2 separate regions of the Homo sapiens genome follow, and region 2 is linked to region 1. Evidence: promoter capture Hi-C in human tissues and cell types (Jung and others, 2019). All regions are on one chromosome and are shown on one strand. The core of a region is centred on a gene start or on the middle of the fragment in contact, and the rest is flanking DNA. Distances in the headings are between cores, read along the strand shown. Region 1 holds the start of CA12 (carbonic anhydrase 12). Region 2 overlaps RAB8B (RAB8B, member RAS oncogene family).

The links. The method cuts DNA at HindIII sites, captures the fragments that hold promoters and counts their contacts. A contact is called where the count stands out against the background at its distance.
Region 2: a fragment that was not itself captured here is called in contact with the fragment with the promoter of CA12 in region 1 in 1 of the 25 tissues and cell types used here (spleen).

Annotation. Positions count from the first base shown.
Region 1 is chr15:63,379,980-63,383,847 of GRCh38, reverse strand. It overlaps CA12 (carbonic anhydrase 12), which reads left to right and starts at 2,002. Exons shown (of 11, transcript NM_001218.5): 1 at 2,002-2,212. The coding sequence starts at 2,128. RefSeq lists enhancers at 1,278-1,797, 1,798-2,318. The HindIII fragment of the contact is 12,151 bases long and covers 1-3,868 here.
Region 2 is chr15:63,246,273-63,250,010 of GRCh38, reverse strand. It overlaps RAB8B (RAB8B, member RAS oncogene family), which reads right to left. Exons shown (of 8, transcript NM_016530.3): 3 at 306-366. Among named protein-coding and RNA genes, the nearest start is that of APH1B, 29 kb to the left of the region's middle. The HindIII fragment of the contact is 7,123 bases long and covers 1-3,738 here.

The sequences.
Region 1 (3,868 bases), core at 753-3,252:
GGGGAATTGTGATAAGCTCTTCATGTGTACCCCACTGTGCTGTTCTCCTATTCTCAGTTCATCTCTTTGCATCTCAACTTGGAAGGTAAGAACTTAATCAGGATGCACTGAACAATTGGCAGAAACTCATGTGAATGTAACTATCTTGTCCAGTTCCTTAACCTGTGCTAAGTCCAGGCAGGCACCTGAAGAAAAAAAAAAAAAAGCATGAAGGAGGCTTTTGCCCAAATGGCACTATACTTGGGGGATTCTGAGTAGGGCTGAAACAGCCTTTGCAAAAATTATAACTGAGGAAATTATGGCAGTGACAAAGATCAGACCTAAATGACTCAGTCTTTCTTCTAACTTTCATGCTGTCCTTATTCATTCCTGGGCATAGGCCAAACTAACCTTAGAAAGGAATTCAGTTTATGGTTTGACTCAGAAACAAAATCAATAATAGCCCTTTCCCGAAAAGACCCCCTTCTTGCCTGGGTGCCAGTCTGCCTTTGTACGATTAATCTATTAGTTACAACATTAGAAATTATGGTTTAGGGGTCCTGCGGCGTCAGGCTGCAAGAGTCTGAACCTTCCCAAGTTGCTGCTGGGGATAACATCGCTATTGTAAAATCTAACATCCTATTTTGCAGACCCTGCACTGGATGGATCAGCTGACACCACTCAGACCGTGTGTGATCTGGCTCAACCAGTTCTGCGATCCCACCCAGGAACAGAAGACTGCAAGAAAACGTTACTTCAACCCCCCTGTGATCCCATCTGCAACCTGACCAATCAGCACTCCCCAAGTCCCAAGCCCCTATCTGCCAAATTATCTTTAAAAACTCCCAGAGGCAGGGTGCAGTGGTTCAACGCCTGTAATCCCAGCACTTTAGGTGGATCACGAGATCAAGAGATCAAGACCAGCCTGGCCAACATGGTGAAACCCCGTCTCTACTAAAAATACAAAAATTAGCTGGGTGTGGCGGCGCGTGCCTGTAATCCCAGCTACCCAGGAGGCTGAGGCAGGAGAATCGCTTGAACCCGTGAGGCAGAGGTTGCAGTGAGCCAAGACCATGCCACTGCATTTCAGCCTGGGCGACAGAGGGAGACTCCGTCTGAACAAACAAACAAACAAACAACTCCCGGAATGCTTGGGGAGACTGATTTGAGTACTGGAATCCCAGTACTTTAGGAGGCCAAGGTAGGTGGATCATTTGAGGTCAGGAGTTCCAGACCAGCCTGGCCAACATGGTGAAACCCCGTCTCTACTAAAATTAGAAAAATTAGCCGGGTGTGGTGGTGGGCGCCTGTAATCCCAGCACTTTGGGAAGCCAAGGCAGGTGAATTATCTGAGGTCGGGAGTTTAAGGCCAGCCTTAAACTGGCGAAACCCCGCCTCTACTAAAAATACAAAAATTATCTGGGCATGGTGGCATGTGCCTGTAATCCCAGCTACTCGGGAGGCTGAGGCAGGAGAATCGCTTGAACCCGGGAGGCGGAGGTTGCAGTGAGCCGAGATCACGCTATTGCACTCCGGCCTGGGCAACAGAGCGAGACTCCGTCTCAAACAAACAAACAAAGGAACGAAAACCTCCGGTCTCCGGCACGGCAAGCTCTGCGTGAATTACTTTCTCCATTGCAACTCCCCTGTCTTGATAAATGGGCTCTGTCTAAGCAGCGGGCAAGGTGAACTCGTTGGGCTGTTACAGGACCAGTGACAGACCAAGGGCATGCCACTGAAGGAATCCCTAGACGCACCCTTCTGGATGTGAGACAGGCGGATCTCACCCACGCCTGCCAGCAGCTCCTCGGAGAACTGTGTTCCTGGGTCAGCCCTGGCCCAGAGGAGCGCCGGGGACCCGCAGAGTGCTGCTGAAGTCAAGGCTACAACTCACCTAGGATCTGGGGCGCCAGCCCTCCGGTGGGCAGGGCGTTCTCCTCCCCCACCCCCTCCCCGCACGATGACATCAAGTGTTTGGCGTTGAGTTGCTCCATAAAAGCTGCCCGGGGAAGCCAGGAGAGCGAAGGGCGGACGTACTCGCCACGGCACCCAGGCTGCGCGCACGCGGTCCCGGTGTGCAGCTGGAGAGCGAGCGGCCACCGGGAGCCCCCGGCACAGCCCGCGCCCGCCCCGCAGGAGCCCGCGAAGATGCCCCGGCGCAGCCTGCACGCGGCGGCCGTGCTCCTGCTGGTGATCTTAAAGGAACAGCCTTCCAGCCCGGCCCCAGTGAACGGTAAAGTTTCCGCCTGCTTCTTTCCTAACACTCCTGAGCGCTCAGCCGCCCCTGGGCTGAAGGCTCTTCAATGATAAAGTAAAATCATTGCTGCGGGGAGCAGGGAAGGTGTAGTACCAAATAGTAGATTCTCAAGAAAGGATGCTCCGTTTTCCTTTGCTGAGGTTGGGTCGGGAAGCACGTTGCTTTCTAGTGGCGCTTGGCGCAGATTTGGTGTTAAAATGTTTGCGTGTACTCCCGGGCACCGCCAGCTCTGAAGATGTGGCTTGGGAACTTGCTAACCAGGGAGGAGATGCAAAGCCAAGATTTAAAACAGCGTTCCCCTGATCCACGTTTAGAAAGTAGAGACATGACTGTGGCATTCTGATTGGGGTAAGCACAGAGAAAGGTTTGCTGTGCCCCTGTGCAGAACCCGCAGACAGTGGTAGGCGCTTTTCTTTGGAGGAGAGGATCTTTACCATTAAGTCTTACCTACAAGTCAAAGGGATGATGCATCCCATTCTTAATCATTGTTTTTCTCCAGGAGGGCTCTACTATGCTGAATGTACGTGTGTGTGCACGTACACACACACACGCACGCGCGCACGCACACAAACCACACACACACACACACACACACACACAGCATATTTCTGATTGTAATTAGAACACTAAATCCCAAAAGGCTGGAGGCTGAGGGACTGAATGGAGGCTCCGTGGAGTGACAGGAGGAGGTGGCAGAGGGGACCTGAACTGTGGGCTCACGCCGGGCCAGTGAGCTAACACGTGTACAGCCAAGGCTGGTTCATTAATCTTTTGGAATAAGAAAGTGATTTTGGACCGAAAGTGATTTTACTGGCTGAAACTAGATTCTTCCTGGCGAGGCAGTGGTGGTGGGAAATGTGTCCTGCTCAGCAGCATAAAAGCTCTGAGCCTCCTCTCTTGGAGGTCACAGTGCCCATGGGGAAGGGCAGGGGAGCCAGGCTGTGGATAACTCTTAATTAAATTCCAGTCAACTAGCTGGCATGATGTGCTTGATATTATCTCCCTCATCTGGTCAGGGAGAAACAGAAGCGATGTAACAGAAGTTGGGAGAAAGGAGCGATGTAAAAGTGAAAATCAAGTTTTAAAACCACAAACTTTACATGTTTCCTTTTACGAAAGCTGCACTGAGACCAAAGTTTCCCTGGAAATCTCTTTAGTCCTAAGTTGCTCCAAGACCAAAGGGAGAAACAGCCATTAGTTGGCCCTCTTTCCTATAGCTGGTTGCTCCTCTCACTCTGGGGCAGCTCTGCCTCCCTTCTCTCTCTTTTCCTGCCCTTCCCTGTTCTCTTCCCTCCCTCCCCTTCCTTTCTTCCCTACTTTCCCTGCTCTTCCTCTTCCCTCTCCCTTTCCCTCCTCCTTATCTCCTCTCCCAATTCTCCAAGTTGGGACTGGGGAAGTTTGTAGTCAAAACTCCACTTTCGCCTCACTCTGAGGAAGGAGACTGCCTACCCCTGGGTAGAGCACAGCTTTTATTCTGTAAATTCTCATGCAGTTTCCTTGGGTTTTTAACTGCCTTAGAGGACAGGTCAAAGCAAAAATCACTGAGGTGTAGAATGTCAGCATGAACCCAAAGTTGGAGGTGGAGAGGAGTTAAGCTGAGTAATGGGGTCAAAGTGTGATCTGCTCTCTGCC
Region 2 (3,738 bases), core at 1,088-3,587, 130 kb after region 1:
GCGCCCACCACCGCGCCCGGCTAATTTTTTGTATTTTTAGTAGAGACGGGGTTTCACCTTGTTAGCCAGGATGGTCTCGATCTCCTGACCTCATGATCCACCCGCCTCGGCCTCCCAAAGTGCTGGGATTACAGGTGTGAGCCACCGCGCCCGGCCCCCAAAAAACCTTTTAAATGTCTTGTTTCCCCATCAGAAAATTTATTTTTCTACATACTAGACTCCATCTTGAATCCTATAATCTTGGCAAACAAACATTCATGCTTTACTTCTACCTGAAGAGTTACAAAACCCTACAACACACTCACCATGGCTCCTCTGTAGTACGCTGTCGTGATTGTTCGGAATCTTTCCTGACCCGCTGTGTCCCTAAAATATGAAACAAAGGAGAGTGGTTTTTGAAGTCATCACCAGCATCACTGAGGAGAAACCCTGCTGTAGGAGATGTAATTCTAGTCTGCTCAGGGTGCAGTGGTCACAGAGGAAAGGAGAATGAGACACAGAGGGAGCCCTTTGCACATCTGCAAGCTGGAGGTGGTGGTGGCCACAGGAGCCTGTCAAGAGCTCACAATGACCTGGGTGAAAAACTCAGACCTTGATAAAAGCAGCAACAGAAAAATACACAGAAAAATCCTGCTAGGAACTGGTGTGTTATATTAGTCAAACACACGTGGGAGGGAATAGAGAATAGTTCTAAATTCTTCGACTCCCCGAGATAGTTATAATCCTTTTTGTAAGTGCTTAATGATTAAAGCACTTTGCTTTCTTGCCTGAATGTCTGATTTCTGTATAAAGCAAGCAATCGAGCTGGACTTATTACTGTGTACATTCTGCTCAGTAGAGCACAATAAAATAGATCTCCTCAAGAACTTGTTCAGCTATGGAGCCCATGATTTCATGGGGACCTGGAGTTCAACACATAAATCTTGACAACGTTTTCAAAGACTTTTAAACATAAACAACATGTCAAAACTATATAAACTTTCATATATTTTTGCTTTTTAGCTGATGGCATACCATTAAAATGCATTCTGAAAAATATAAGAGTTTCTGATTTCATTTATAGAAGCAATCCTATAAAGGAAGTTAAATTTCCTTGATACTTGAGAAAATCAATATTCTCAAATTTCCCACTTCCAGCCAGAACTAATTCATTCCCTGTGCTACTAAGACAATTTAATTGCAGGAGAGAAAGAGGCATTTGTGGAAATATACTAGAAATCTAGTATATACCAAATCCTAATAAAAGATGAAGGCCCAAGGGAATATCATAAGTTAAAAAGCAATAAACACCTTAACATAGACATATATCTTACAAAATACTTTCACACTGCACTCACGTGATGTCTACCACAGCCCATTAGGGTGGGCTACTGGCTGGGGGTGTTACCAGCATCCAAGTTCTGCAGATGAGGAAACAGGCTCAGAGGAACTATGGCCCCAGCTGTGCCACTAAACAGCTCATATTCTTTATGTATTTATTTATTTGTTTGTTTGTTTTTGAGATGGAGTCTCGCTCTGTCACCCAGGCTGGGGTCCAGTGGCACAATCCTGGCTCACTGCAACCTCTGCCTCCTGGGTTCAAGCGATTCTCCTGCCTCAGCCTCCCAAGTAGCTGGGACTACAGAAGCCCACCACCACGCCAGGCTAATTTTTGTATTTTTAATAGAGATGGGGTTTCACCATATTAACCAGGCTGGTCTCAAACTCCTGACCTTGTGATCTACCCGCCTCGGCCTCCCAACGTGCTGGCATTACAGGCGTGAGCCACTGCACCCGGCCCAGCTCATACTCTTGAAGGAGACAAGCATCTTAGGTCTCAGCTGTTCAGCTCTGGGCCAGGCCTTACAAAAAAGCCATCTTATCCTGTCATTTTCTTTGATCGGCATTAGATGCATGGGGCACTTGTTTGCTGCACCGCTAACAAATCATGGGGAAATGGAAGGCAAGCACTTTTTAGCAGACTAACCATATTTCTCTGAGAAACCCAAGGAGGGGATCATGAGAAAAGATGTAATTTTTTAAATCTGTAAAATATTTGGCATCTTGTTCAATACCAATGGATGGAAAGGGCAGCCTATAGTAACCTTCATAACATTTTCCAGTGAAGTACACTGGAAACCACTAGGAAGCCAATCACTATGTTCCAGGGCAGTTGAGTAGTTATCCCAGCTTCATCACATATGCCCTCGAGTGGACCTAACCACTCTCAGTCCCTGTTTCCTTCTCTATAAAAGAAGAGCTGGGGGATATTCTTCTTCTGTCCCAGTTCTGAGTTCAAAAAAGAAATACAGCCTAAGGCAACAGCTAATATGTATAACTTTACTCTTTAGCCCTGCCTCGTTCTTAGCCAGTGCTGCTCTGAATTCTACGTTTTGTCTACTGCTGTCATCAATACACATTAGATCAGCAAACATCACCAACAACCTTCCAAAAGCTCCAAATCTATATGGCTCCATGCAAGGCACTGAACTGAAAGAAATTAAACCAGCTTCTAGGAGGTTAAAAAAAATCTAAGAAGAGCTTCTGAGTTCAAGTCAAAAATATTCAACCTAGCAATCTGGAGGAACCATATTTATTCACTGTAGTTGGACAGATTCTTCAGGAGTTTATGAACCAGAGTTGGGTAATCATAAGATCTTTGCCTTGCATATTGCAACATCAGAGTTGGGAAACATCCTAAGGACTAATAGTTTGTGTTCCTCCAACATTTATATGTTGAAGCCTAATCCTCAATGTGATGGTATTTAGATAGGGGAACTTTGGGAGGTAATTAGGTCATGAGGGTGGAGCCGTTGTGAAAGGGATTAGTGCTCTTCACACCATAGAGATGATCTCTCTCTGGGCCATGTGAGGATACAAGTGAGACAGCTGTCTACAAACCAGGAAGCAAACCTTCACTAGACACTGTATCTGCTGGCACCCTGATCTTGGGTTTCCCAGCCTCCAGAACTGTGAGAAATAAATGTTTATTGTTTAAGACACCCAGTCTATGGTATTTTTGTTATAGTAGCTGTGATAGTGTGATACAGTAAGGAACACATATAATAAGAAACATATTTGGTCTCTGCTCCTGATTCTTGGCACACAGATACTAAAATTCTTGGAATCTCCAACAAAGTGTTTAAGTTCTTTTTGTGCGCTAATGAAATAACTGGTGGCTGGGGCTCCTGTTCAGCCACAGGATAGGAGGCTGGTTGCCAGGAGAACCAACCAAGTGATAAGCGGGCTGGAACTTTCAGTCCTACCATTCGACCTCTGGAGAAGGGAGAGGGGCTAAAGGTTGACTTAATCACCAATGGCCCACGATGCAATCAATCATGGCTATATAAGGAAGCTTCCATAAAAACTCAAAGGACTGGGTTTGGAGAGCTTCAGGAGAGTGAGACACGTGGAGGTGCTGGATGTTCTTGGAGAGTAGATGACCCCTCCCACAAGGAAGGAAGTGTGGAAGTTCCTCACTCCTTCCCACATGGCTTGCCCTGTGTATCTCTTCCATCTGGCTGTTCATCTGTATTCTTTGCAATATCCTTTATAATAAATGGGTAAACATAAATAAAGTGTTTCCCTGAGTTCTGTGAGCTGCTCTAGTAAATTAAAGGAATCAGAGGAGGGGGGTCATCAGAACCCCAATTTATAGCCAGTTGGTCAGAAGTAGAGGTGACAACCTACTACAGTTGAGTATCCCTAATCTGAAAATCCAAAATCTAAAATGCTCCCAAATCCAAAACTTTTTGAGTG